Regions from separate parts of the Homo sapiens genome. Here region 1 is linked to region 2. Evidence: promoter capture Hi-C in 16 types of primary human blood cells and fetal thymus (Javierre and others, 2016). All regions are on one chromosome and are shown on one strand. Each heading gives the region's core, a stretch centred on a gene start or on the middle of the fragment in contact. The rest is flanking DNA. Distances are from core to core; before and after follow the strand shown. Region 1 overlaps SORL1 (sortilin related receptor 1). Region 2 holds the start of SC5D (sterol-C5-desaturase).

What was found. Contacts are between HindIII fragments. The CHiCAGO score rates a contact against its expected background, and 5 or more counts as called.
Region 1: a contact is called between a fragment that was not itself captured here and the fragment with the promoter of SC5D in region 2, in 9 of 17 cell types (non-activated CD4 T cells, neutrophils, activated CD4 T cells and 6 more). The highest score is 13.1, in non-activated CD4 T cells.

Annotation. Positions count from the first base shown.
Region 1 is chr11:121,546,119-121,552,358 of GRCh38, reverse strand. It overlaps SORL1 (sortilin related receptor 1), which reads right to left. Exons shown (of 48, transcript NM_003105.6): 15 at 2,271-2,399; 16 at 1,689-1,774. Among named protein-coding and RNA genes, the nearest start is that of SORL1-AS1, 96 kb to the right of the region's middle. RefSeq lists an enhancer at 148-1,347. The HindIII fragment of the contact is 3,679 bases long and covers 816-4,494 here.
Region 2 is chr11:121,287,859-121,295,082 of GRCh38, reverse strand. It overlaps SC5D (sterol-C5-desaturase), which reads right to left and starts at 2,312. Exons shown (of 5, transcript NM_006918.5): 1 at 2,267-2,312. RefSeq lists a silencer at 2,301-2,350 and an enhancer at 2,521-2,570. The HindIII fragment of the contact is 7,130 bases long and covers 1-3,446 here.

The sequences.
Region 1 (6,240 bases), core at 1,406-3,905, 260 kb before region 2:
TGCTTAACCTGGAAAAGGAATGGAATTCTTGGCTGGTCCTGGCCAAGGAATGTGTGTTTTCATAGTAATTGTAAAGGAAGAAAAATTCTTGCATTTAAAAAATCCTTCCAGATGCCCAGATTACCTCATCTTTGCAAAGATATTACGGCCCCCATTAGTCCTGTGAAAGCATCTTTTTCTTTCCTGGTATATCCCTGCCTCCTATTCCATGCCTTTTTTTTTCTCTCTTTTACATAGGAGGTGGCCCACAATGGAATGAGATTTCTCCACTTCGTTCCCTGTTCTATCTTCCAGTAGAAGAGAAAATAGCTTTCCTGCCAGTTTAGATGGCTTTAAACAAACTGTTTTGTCCCTTGCTGAATTATCTTCAGAAATATTTATTACAAAAGTAGGCACTCCAGCCCCTCAAGAGCAATCACTCAAACCCTACTAACCCACGCCCTCATCAATAACAGCTCTTGTGAGGGAAATATTTGAATATTATCTGCTCATTTGTTGGAATTTGCTGAAGTGGTGGTTCTTTTCAAGCCTCCATAGTGAGGTATGTTAATTACTCTGGTAATGATGAAAGATTAAATTAAGGGACTAACGAACTTAGCATGAAAAACACCAGGGCAAGCTGGCGGCAGTGAGCAAAAGAGAGGGCTGCCCTGCCCTGCCTGTGGAGACCACACACTTCTTTCATGATTCATTCGGTGCTTATGGCTGTCCACGTAAGACACCACCACCCACCACAGACGGAAGTTAACTCCAGCCATTTACCTTCACCAAGAGGTAATGGGCAGGAAAGAGGGCACAGAGGGAATAAAGAAGCTTTAAATGAATAAGAACTGGAAACAGAGTGAAGAAAAGCAACTAAGAGATTATTTTTCAAAGTATCATAATTTCATGTCTCTGTGGTAAAGACCCCATGTTACATCACCACTAAATCTAGCAGAAACGTGTTTTAGAACACACTATACCTTTATAGCATGTGAATCATTTCAGAGAAGTTTTTCTTAATTAGCATGCATAATGATTATCTAAAATAGTGAGAATGATATTTATTTGCCATTTGGGCAATGTCCAATGAAGAGCATGGGGCTTAGAGTCTGAATTTCAACTTTGTCACTTACTAGATGTGTGACCTTAAGCCATTTAACCTCCTCTGAACATGCTTCCTCGTGAAAAAGTAAAAAACAAAATTGATAATATCTGCTTCCCTGAGTTGTTAAAAGGGTTAAACTGGCAACACATAAAAAGTACACTGAAATCTATAAAATTCCATTAAAATTTTAGTTACAGTTAGTTTTATTATAAAATTAACATAGACTACTTAGCTACTTCCTAAGAAGTCACACACCTCTTTATACTCAACTTTGACAAACAGATTAAGGAACACACAAAAGCCTGTGGGGATCTTTCTACCCCAGTGGATGCTGAATAAATATTTTTCAATTAACAAAGGGATTTCCCTCAAAGAAACTGAGCTGACACAAAGTACTTTCCATTCCTAAAAACGGGTATGGCTATGTACAAGTTCAGTGTGGAAACCAACCTTAGGGAAAAGAGGAAGCCCTGTGATGCTTGTGACGGCCATTGTTTTTCTCCACTCAATTAAAGGAGCCACAAGCCCGGACTTGGGTGAGATCGTGATACTGCTTCAACCATGTCTCAAGAAATGAAAGGGAAGAAACCACCTCTCTTACCTGCCAGGGGACAGGGGACCAGCTCTCCTTCCAGTCGCGCTTCAACATCTCCTCCGCTACAAGTGTCCCCAGAAATCTTCCGGTAGCTGTCACCCCACCCCAAGAGCAAGAGGTCAGAAACATGGAAGAATAGCCACAAAGGCATCCCAGCTGGGAATACACTTACTACCCACGGCCAGTAGAGTCCATCCACTCATTTCTCTTTAGAACTAGAAAGAGGATGTTCGTAGTTCTGAGTCAGTTCTCCTTATAATTAGACTAGGCAGGCCCAGACAATTTAGGGCACTGTCCTGGCCAAGATTTTTAAATATATCTCTTGAATACATTCCTCTGAAGATGTTTCCCTGCTGAAGTTGATGACTTAAGATATTCCTAGAGTTTCAGGGATGCTTACAGACTTGCAATGTGGAGGTAGGAGAGTTTACAAATACCATAATTTATAATGTTGCCCAAACTACTTGCAGGCTGTTAACTTGGAATTCTAGAATTTCGAGTGTAGAGCAATCCAGACGGTCCTCTATGCTCTCTCGCTCCATGTGCGGACCGCTGAGAACCTGACAGGGCAACCTCTGTGATACATACCCTCTCGTTCTCCTGTAAGTAGAACCCACAGGGCAAGGCACAGGAGGGGAGTATGACTTTCCAGAAAATTCCGGATCTGGAACACAAACCTCTAATGACAAATCTTCACTCATCTTGAAACCGAAGTCACTAAAAAGGCAATTGGGCTTTGTTAAGGCCACGGTTTTATACATTTCAGGCATTCCTGTACCAATTCTGCTGACTTTACCTTACTACTTTTCACTTTTATTATAAGTTATTTAACATGTCCCTTTAAAGAATATTTACTTTTTATATAAAATACATCTTCAAAAGAAGATTTATATCAGAACCACAGTTGGAAAAACACAATCACATGCCATAAATAGACCAAAAAAAAAAAAAATCATCATGCCAAATCAAAACAGTATTAAATTTTAGCCAGATCCAGTTCCCAATTTAAGACTCTGGACCTGCCCTCTCTGTTAAAAGGGATTAGGCAAATGTTACAGTTACTAGCAACCAATGAGACGTTCTTTTTGACAGAATCTGAAGAAGTAAAAGAGGAATTTTAAAAGAATAACCTTTTTAAAAAATTATTTGGGGCCGGGCATGGTGGTTCACGCCTGTAATCCCAACACTTTGGGAGGCCAAGGCAGACATATTGTTTAAGCCCAGGAGCTCCAGACCAACATGGGCAACATGGTAAGACCCTGTCTCTACAAAAAAGAATAAAAAAAAATAGCCAGGTATGGTGCTGCACACCTGTGGTCCCAGCTACTTGGGAGGCTGAGGTGGGAGAATCATTTGAGCCCAGGAGGTCAAGGCTGTAGTGAGCCGTGATTGCGCCACTGCACTCCAGCCTGGGCAACAGAGCAAGCCCCTGTCTCAGAAAAAAAGAAAAAATTTGACTAGGGGTTCAATGTTATTTAAGAGTATATCCACATACTAGCTAAGTCACCCTGTACTTTGAGATACAGTAGTTAGGTTCATGAGACCTCTTGTGATCTGGAGTCACATCTGCCAAACCTCCCAGCTTGAAGGGCAGCATCCTGGAGTAGGAAGCAGGAGGCCTCAGTCGAAGACGATTCTAAAACGAGGTGACTGTACTATGAATGTTCTAAGGCCCTTCCAAACCTGTAAATTCTATAATTCAATGAATTACAGAATATATTCAAAGAATTATAGAACAGAACATATATTCCACGTTCATGTGCTCTACCAGAACACATTTATTTGCTCTATTCAATTCAACAAATATTTAGGTCCGGCATGGTAGCTCACGCCTGTAATCCCAGCATTTTGGGAGGCTGAGGCGGGTGGCTCACTTGAGGTCAGGAGTTCTAGACCAGCCTGGGCAACATGGCAAAACCCCGTCTCTACTAAAAATACAAAAATCAGTTGGGCATGGTGGCACGCACCTGTAATCCCAGCTACTCTGGAGGCTGAGGCAAGAGAATGGCTTGAACTTGGGAGGCAGAGGTTGCAGTGAGCCAAGATTGCACCACTGCACTCCAGCATGGGTGACAGAGTGAGACTCTGTCTCAGAAAAACAAAAAACAAAAAGAAAAACTCCAAATATTCATTAAACATTTCTGACACAAAAAGTATTAACAGATACACAGAGAGTGATTTGTGTGCATTATATCATAATCCACATTTAATAGTTTGTAAGAATTGTTCAAAAGGCAGCAGTTTTGTCACTGTATCAAATGTGCCTCTTTCATTACCTCAGTTCGTTATTACTGAACGGCCACTTTAAATCTTTTTAGGAACCAGATAAAGCATTAGCTAATTACTTATTTGCCTCCAATAGCAAAGCACTCTTCCTGGGCAGCTTTCTTTGACCATAGGTCATGACCTAGTGGACTCTGAGAGTACTTGGGAGGCCCAAGACTAGATTCTTCCCCTCCCAAAAAAGTGCAAAAGATTGCAAAAGGCCCCATCATACATTTAAAAGTCAATGTTGTCTCCTAAAACTTGTGTTTTAATTATATGTGTGTATGTATCTACACGTACATATGTAAGTACAGGGTCATAAGAGAAAATGTATTATTTACTAGGGGTTGCAGTCAAGAATGTGAAAGCTGTATGACTTGGCAATGTCGAGAAATATAAGAACATAAAAGAATCTACCATGGAAATCAGGAAACATGGGCCAATAGCTGGGCTTCCCAGTGTGGTCTAAAAGGACTATCAGAAATAACCTGGTGTTCAAACACAGTTGTCAACCAGTACCTGAACTAATGGAAAGATACTATAAGCTTGCTCATTCTCATCTCATTTCCTGACGTCCATCTTGGGACCATTTTCCTTCTCAGTGCCATAGTCCAATGCCATCAAACATCTCCAAGAGCCATATAGTTGGGCTGGCTGCCTTCCAGCAGCTACAGCAAGCAGAGAAACAATTGGGAGGGGTGGAGCGGGGAACAGCTGACATCCATATACCCCTTACCATTTCAGAGGGTCATCACCCCACGATCTCATTTGGCCTGCAACCCAACTCCACAAGGGGCAGAGCAGGTGGTTTTACTGGTCTACAATAAAAACACTCCACATACAAGCAGGGTGAGCATACAGCAGGTTCCAGCAAGGCAGATGGGGTGGGCATGGTAGACCAGCAGGTCCCAGGCCAGTTTACCCAGGAGGGCACACCAAGCTCCATTTCTTTTCTTGTGTGTGTGATTTTTTTTTTTTTTTTTTTTTTTTTTTTGGTGAGGGTTGGGGAAATGTAGGGCAAGAGAGAAAATTTTAATGTTATTTGTTTTTAAGCCTAAATGTCATGAAAAAAAAAAAAACCCCAAAGATTTGTTAGACTTTCTTACCTATTTTTTACTTAGTCTTAATTTTATTTTGAAGTACATATTGGGGATAGGAAGAGGGGAGAGAGAGGGCACTATGATCTTTTCAGGGATTAGGACCTCTCCAGTCTCAAGCTGGTCTGGGGAGGACTACCTGGAGCCAACAAAGCTCTCAGATTAGATTAGACTATAATGCAAAAGTGTGTAAGAAAGAGCAGAAGGCAAACAGCATGGAACTGAAGTCACCAAGAACATCAGCCAGCCCTGTGCTTTTGCTGTTAAAGAGTCTGTGTCGTTACCTTGGGAGCACACACCTTTCTAAGGAAATGACTGTCTTCTCTGTTCTAAGCCTTGCTGCTCAAAGGGCGAATGTGCAGATAAGCAGCATCCACATCTCTTGGGAGCTTGATGGAAACGCAGAGCCCCAGAACTCCTGAGGCAGAATCTGCATGTGACCAAGGCAGAATCTGCAAGTGATTCATATGCACCTTAAAGTTTCAGAAGCACTGGTTGAGAACAGAAGTGGCCAAACCTGGTTGGCCATTTTTGTAAATAGAGATTTACTGGATCACAGCCACGTTCATTCCTCTAGAGCTGCTTTCATTCACCCATGGGCACTGCCATGGGCAAAGTGAGGAGTTGTAACACAGATCATAGAAACCATATGGCCTACAAAGTCTAAAACATTTACTATATGACCATGTTCCAACCTCTGGTCTAGAATACATCAGAGGTTTCTGGCTTTAGTCAAGACAAGTACAGCTGCCCAAAGCAAAATCTAGTTCCTCTGTGCCTCAGCAACCACTGAAATATGAGTTGTGTATTTATATTAAATACCCATGGCTCTCTTGGTGCTCCTGACTAAACTACAATGATTTCATGCTGAATTACAGACTACAGTGACTGTCCAGGAGCTCTGAGATCCTCTGTACTCTGCCACTAGAATCCTCTTCCTACAGCTAAGCTCTGTTCTCATCATCAACTCTCCTCAAAAGCTCCTACAGCTAAGCTCTGTTCTCATCATCAACTCTCCTCAAAAGCCGCTGAAGGCCTCCTCCTAATTATAGAATAAGGTTCATCCCCTCTAAGGTCTTTCTCCCCTACTGTATTCTATCTTTTCAGCCTCATCTCCAATTGTCATCCCCATGTCATACACCCAACAAGGCATCCCAATTCAACTCCCAACCACACCCTGCTGCCTCTACACCTGA
Region 2 (7,224 bases), core at 1,063-3,562:
TGGCTCATCTTCTATCTTAGATATAAGCAATAGGCCACATGTAAATATAAATGTGAAGTTCAAAAGCGAGCCTGGTTAGTATACAGGTAGTAGTTGAAGTTATAGGGGTGAAGACTGCCAAGGGAGGTGGTGTAGCAGGGACAGGGTACTACGTAATATCAGATAACATAAACATTTAATAATTGAAAAGGATATTGCTATATCACTAAAGGTTGGTAACAGCTGATGAGCCAATCTACATGTTCCCCACAGTGCCATGTGGCCCTACTTCAATACAATACCTAGAATAGTATCGTGCAACCAAAAAGAACACAAACATGTTTGATTGCTGTGAGGTTTAGAGACTAAGTAGACTTTTGACATTTGACCCAAGAAAGGTACTCAATAAAATAGCATCTATATGATTATCACTGTTAAGGCCGTCAAAAATGCGTCAAAATTACTTCAATAGAAGATAAAATAGGTGCCACTTGATTTTTGTTTGAAAAATAACTGACAGTAGTTGATAGTAATATTTAATATATACTAGGTAATATAAATATTTTAAATATATTAACTAATTTTCCCTTTCAAGAAGCCTCAAAGGTAGGTACTAGTATTATTTTATAGATGAAGAAGCTGGGCACAGAAATTTTAAGTAACTTGCATAGGGTCATAAGAGTAAATAAATGCTGGAGCTAGGATTCAAATACACACAATCTAGTTGCAAAGTACGTGAACTTCTGCCAAGTTCTATAGCCTCTTCACCACTACTTCAAGTCGTCAACTCCTGAATTTTTAAAAATGTTCAGTGCCTCTACAAGCTCATATAATTTTAAGGGGTTATAAGCCCTGAAGTTAGGGGTCCCAAGGACCCTAAATTAAGTACCACTGCTTCAAACAGAAACTTAAATACTTTGTCCTTGCAGAATTAAAGAAACTTCTTCTTAAAACTCAGTTATAATAACAATATTAGGCTTAGAACAACTCAGTCTACCATTATCTTTTTGCCCTACTTTAAAAGTATAGAAAATGATAGCTAATATTTATTGAGAACCAGGTATTATTTTTGTATAACCTCATCTAATCCCTATACCTCTATGAGATAGGTACTTCTATGCTCCCCACTTTATAGATAGGGAAACTGAGGTCAGAGTATTTAAATAACTTGTTCAGTAGCAAGCAACAATAACAGAAAAAACCAGCTGGGATGTACATTCCACAACCTTTCTCTTTGCTACCACGTTATGTTATCTCTCAAGATGTTTTATATGCAGATGAGGGATTCTGAGTACCACCCCATGCTAATTAATTACATTACATAACGAATGGAAAAGCACTCTGTAAATGATCAAGGATCAGTTATTATTTACTAGGTATCAATCATTAGAAACTTTAAAAAATGATAGTGATATAAAGACAAATAACTTCCAGAGGGTTTCCTCTAAAAGTACCGAGCTGCCACAAACTTTCCAGTTTGGAAACTCTATGTACTGAGGTCTTGTTTTCTTCACTTACACCACCTCCAAATCTACTCTGCTGTAACACAGGGATGTCAGTATACATTATTTTTCCTTTTATGATGCAAAAGGAACAGATTATTTCCCTTTTCCTTTCAGTCTCCTCAGCCCCAGATTGCTGTCCCTTCATTCTAATTACGCCGCAGCAACAGAGGCTTGCAATGGTCAGGAGTTCTGATACCGACCAGTTCTTCAGCCTGATTCTTCTGGCCTTTAAAAGAAAAAAACCCTCCCAGAACGAAGGGAAAAGTAAAGCATTCGTGTTCAGCAGCCAGACCAGAATTCCCTTGAGTAAGAGATCTGCAACACCCAACATCAAACACTGCATTTTCTTTAAGCCCGTCCACGGTCGGCTCCTTCAAGTCCAGGCCTCCCTATCGGCCCCGCGATCCCTCCCAGCGCGAGCGGAAGGCCCCTCCGCCCGGACTCCCAGGTGGCGCAGCCCTCCAGGCCCCGAGGTCCCCCGGCCCAGCCCTCGCCGCCAGTCTTCGGGATGCCAGGCTACCTGCCAGCCTCTCCTCTCACTCGGCGCAGGACTCGGATCCGTATGCTACCGCGATCCTACCATCCGCCCAACGCCTAGCACCCAGAGGGCACTCGCTAACCAACCGCGGCGCGGAGAAAAGCCGTGCTGCGAGGACACCTTCCGCCTCGCCCACCCGAGTCCCAGGCGCTGAAGTCTCTCCATCTTCTTTTATTCCATCGCCCCCCGGCCCAGCCCGCTCAGGTGTATTCCGCTTCCTTCCCCGCCCACCCACCGTCCCCACCTGGAGGTGGTCCGCCGCCGCTCCGCACGCCACTGCTCTGCAAACTGTCCTAGCAGCTGGGCAGCCAGCAAGCGGGCCGGGAGGCTGGAGCGGCCAGCCAATCAGCGACCGGCGCCATAAGCTGATATGACGGCAGATCGCGCGAAGGGCCTGCGCGCAGCTCTCCGCGGTCACGTGGGCGCCGCGCGCTCGGCCACGCCCCCTTTGTCCTCTGACTAAGGGGAGGGCGGGCGCCCCATCCGAGTACCTTTGCGGTGGAGGATGCGGTTTCGGGTTTTGCGTTTGTTTCTTTGCTTTCTTTTTAAACTAGCTCTTGTGTCATTCATGGTGGTACCAGGCAGGTTTACGGTGTTTATACAAACATTCCTAGAACGGGTGCCCTGCGTTGAGGGAAATAGACGACACTTCCTTTGACGCGAATGTCTGGGTCGTTTTCTCCCTCAAGGGAGGAGGTGCAGATGTTCCCAAACAGGTGCTCAAGGTTTTAAGACGTAGTCCCCCCGATTTTCTAGCGCTGAATGGCTGGAGGCTCCGCGAGCCGGTGTATGTAGGGGTCTAAATGGTGACAAGATGAGGGTAAACATGGACAGAAACCTTTTCACGATACAAGTTGTTGAAAACCAAGGTTAACGCAGATCTAATTGGCTTTGATTTGCTACACATGAATCGAGCAGCTCCGATTTCCTGAAACAGAGCTGAGCAGAGGAGGGTGGCTTCACAGGCAGAAGAGGACGGAGGAAAGCAGAAATAAGGAACCAAAAGATCTGTCGTTTCAGAGTGACTTTCCTTAAACAGAGATTAAAACAGAGGGGACTGACTTGTGATACCAGCTCAGCAACTTCAAAGTGGCAAACTGGGCCACTTTACCTATTACATAAATAATATGGGGAATACATGACAGAAATGAGGGATTTTTAAGGGAAAAAAATAACATGATTCGATCTGCCTTCAAAAGACTTTTCCGGTAGTTAAACTTCAAATGTACATAGGATACTGGACAAAGTTCAAATGAATTTAAAATAGTGTAGGTGGTTTTTTTAAAAAAGACTCATTATATAAATAAAAATAAATTTTAAAAAGTTTTGAGTGTCTACTTCGTTTAACACATCGTACTGAACACCGGGAATGGAAAGAGATGTTACAATAATGACAAAGACATGGTTCCCAACCTTAAAAAGCTTATGTGCTGTGGGAGAAATGGGCATGTATAAATAACTATGTTGCTTATTACAAGGACAGGAAATAAACAGTAATTGGTGGTATAGGCTGAGCACAGAGACAAAATGGCTATTCTGATGAGGGAAATTAGGGAAGGAACATTGTTTTGCCCAATGAAATGATTTGAATGGACACTTTAAAATGTTATTGAGCATAGATGATAAAACATTTATTAAACGAATAAAAGCTCAAAAGTGAAATGTTATAAGCAAACATCAAATATCCTGAATCTCTAGAATTTTATTGTTGAATATGCCTTAGCTATTACAAGTGGTCTTTATTCTTGGTGACTTAGGGATTCCCAAGAAATTTGCAATCACTCCTGACAACTCAAAGTAGTAATAAGTTAACCTCAAGAGAACAATCTTGTTTAAAAATAAATTTAAGTGTATTTTTTAATTATTATTTAAGTTCTGGGATACATGTGCAGAACGTGCAGGTTTGTTACATAGGTATACATGTGCCATGGTGGCTTGCTGCACCTTCCAACCCGTCATCTAGGTTTTAAGCCCTGCATGCATTAGTTATTTGTCCTAATGTTCTCCCTCCCCTTGCCCTCCACCCCCTGACAGGCCCCGGTGTGTGATGTTTCCCTCCCTGTGTCCATGTGTTCTCATTGTTCAACTCCCACAGTTGAACAACTCCCACATACTCAATGAGAATATGTGGTGTTTGGTTTTTTGTTCTGTGTTATTTTGCTGAGAATGATGGCTTCCGGCTTCATCCATGTCCCTGCAAAAGACATGAACTCATTCTTTTTTTTATGGCTGCATAGTATTCCGTGGTGTATAAGTGTATTAATAGCACATCCTGGGGTGCAGCATTCCTACATGTCTTTTCTATCCAGGCACACTGATGGATCAGGGTAATTTATTTATTCATTGTTTGCAAGGGTCTATGGTACCAACCAGCCAGTACCAAGGAATTCAGAGATAAGCCACAATACCTGCCTATGTGTCTGGATGGAACATGAACATGGAAACAAACCATTTAATCATTAAATTACTCAATTTATTTACTCAATAAATCATTATGTAATGGTGATAAGTGTCAGGCACTGTCATATGCACAGGAGATATACTGATAATCAAAACAAAGTCTGCTCTAATGAAGCTTACACACTAGTAAGGAGACAGAAAACTGATAATAAATAAATAGATATATAATACAATGTCGGACAGTGCTATGAAGAAAAAGAAAATGGGGTAAGAGAATCAAAATTAACGGAAGCTGTTAACTTCAGACAGCATGGTCAGTCAGTTTCTCTGAGAGGGCTACATTTGACCTGAACAGAGTTAGAAGTCCTCATTCACTTGGAAGATTCTAAACTGAGATTGAGTTTGAATTTTTTTCAATGAAATGTTGCCTTTCAATGCATCAATAATTTATCAGCCCACGTTCATTATATAACATTATACTTTAATGAGAACACTAAGCACTAAACTGTTTAAAGACCTTTGTCTTTACAAAGGTACTACAAAGGAAACTACAAAGACTGTAGTTTCTGAAGTTAGGAAATGAAGACCCTTTCTTTCTGCATTCGTCCGTTTGCATTGCTATAAAGGAATACCTGATACTGGGTAATTTACAAAGAAAAGAGGTTTATTTTGGCTCACAGTTTTGCAGGCTGTACAGGAAGTGTGGTGCTGGTATCTGGTTCTGGTGAGAGGACCTCAGGAAGCTTACAATCCTGGTGGAAGGCAAAGGGGGAGCAGGCCTATCGCATGAAGAGAGGGAGCAAGAGAGAGGGAGGAGGCTCTCTCTTTTAAACTCAGGCTCTTTTAAACAGCCAGATCTCATGTGAACTCATAGAGTGAGAACTCACTTTACTGTGAGGACAGCACCAGGACATTCATGAGGGATCTGCCCCCAACACCCAAACACCTCCCACTCAGTCCACCTCCAACATTGGAGGTCGCATTTCACCACGTGATTTGGAGGGGAGGAAACATCCAAATCATGTCACTTTCTAACTGGTTTTCAGATGTGTAAAACAGAACAGCCTTCTTAATGAAATGTTGTCACTGAATGCATCAGTAATGTATCAACCTCTCTTCATTACATCACACTGGACTGTACTAAGAACACTAGGCACCAAGCTATTTAGAGTGAATGTTTCTGATGAACTCGTTGGGCCACTGGCTCACAAGCATCTGTTTGCATGAATTTATTTTTTAGGGAGAAGAGAATCTTCATGAAAAAGGTGGATGCACAAGTGTCCAAAAGTAGATTACAGGAAGAGAAAGTGTTTATTCCTTAACCTGGCCCCATGGATTCTATTTTAATTTATAGTATGATACTTTAAACTACAAATAAAATCTTAAACCCCCCAGCAGACTGAACAGACCACCTCTTGGCCAAAGGGATTCCAGAAAAGCCTTAAAAACTTAGTTCCCAGCCATGATGAGATGAGGTCAGACAGGCCTCATTATACCCCCTCCCTTTTTAGACACGACTGACCGGCATTGATGTTAAAACAGAAATCATAAAACTGGCAGAACAGATTCTTTGTGGCGATACAATACCAAATTATAAATAGGACCTAAGGTCGTGCCAGGCGAGGGTTAAGTCATGTACCCTACACGTAAAGAATAAACTATGTTCTAACTGTCACAAGATTTTTCTTTTTCTCTAGCAGCTAAACAAACACTGGCCTTCAGATAAGCAATATTAAAACAATTTGCAGCTCCACCAGACGCTAACTGACCCCCTATTCCACAAGCCACAACTACGGCTTTCATTGGATAAAGACTGGTTTTAATAACTTTCTCCTGATAAGAATACCACTGACCCATGGGCTGGTTCTGATCAGTTTACAGAAGTTGCACATCTATATGCCTTCATGTCCTGAAAAAACATTTTGACATATAGGGCCTAATTGTAATATATTTAAATGTTAACTCTCCATCCTAAAGTGAACATGGTCATATGTTACATGCATGTTTGTTCAATATGCATGTCAGGATCAGCTTCATGAATATTCATAGCTCCTCCTGTAAAACATGCATGTTTAGCCAACCTGTTCAGCATAAAGCTCCTACTCCAGCCCCTCCTTCTTCAAAGTGCCTATCTCTGGTCTCGGCTGGAGGCACACTTCCCAGCCTGTGGGTTGGTCACCTTGCAGGCTGCAACACTTTATAAGAAATAAATTCTTCTCTCCTTTCTTAAATTTATAAATTGTATAATTTTTAAGTTAACAGTACTTAACATTTTAGTGATCATAGATCCCTCCAAAAATTAAATGACATCTATGGACTCTGTCCCCAGAAAATACATATGTGCATACAGTAGTTTTTCTAACCATCTACTTAATATTCTTGATTCCCTTTCTGAAATATGCCAACTGATTCTCATAAAATACTGAAGACTCATAGCTAGTAGCCTTCACTTTAGTTTACTCCTCCACATCTGCTTCCACTAGCTGAGTGGAATACTCCCCAAGAGTCAGTTATGTTTGTTCCCAAACTTCATTTCCATTGTATGCCTCATACGTATATAATTTAATTGAATTGCATGAACTGATAAAATTTGAGTCTGCAAAGAAATAATTTTCTATGAAAATCAAGAAAATGAGTGCTAATAAAAATAGCCATTGTCAGACACTTAGGTGGTTTCCATATCTTGGTTACTATGAATATGCTGCAATAAACATGGAAGCACAGAGTATCTTTTCAGCATACTGATTTCATTTCCTGTGGATATAATACCCAGTATTGGGATTGCCGGATCATATTGTAGTT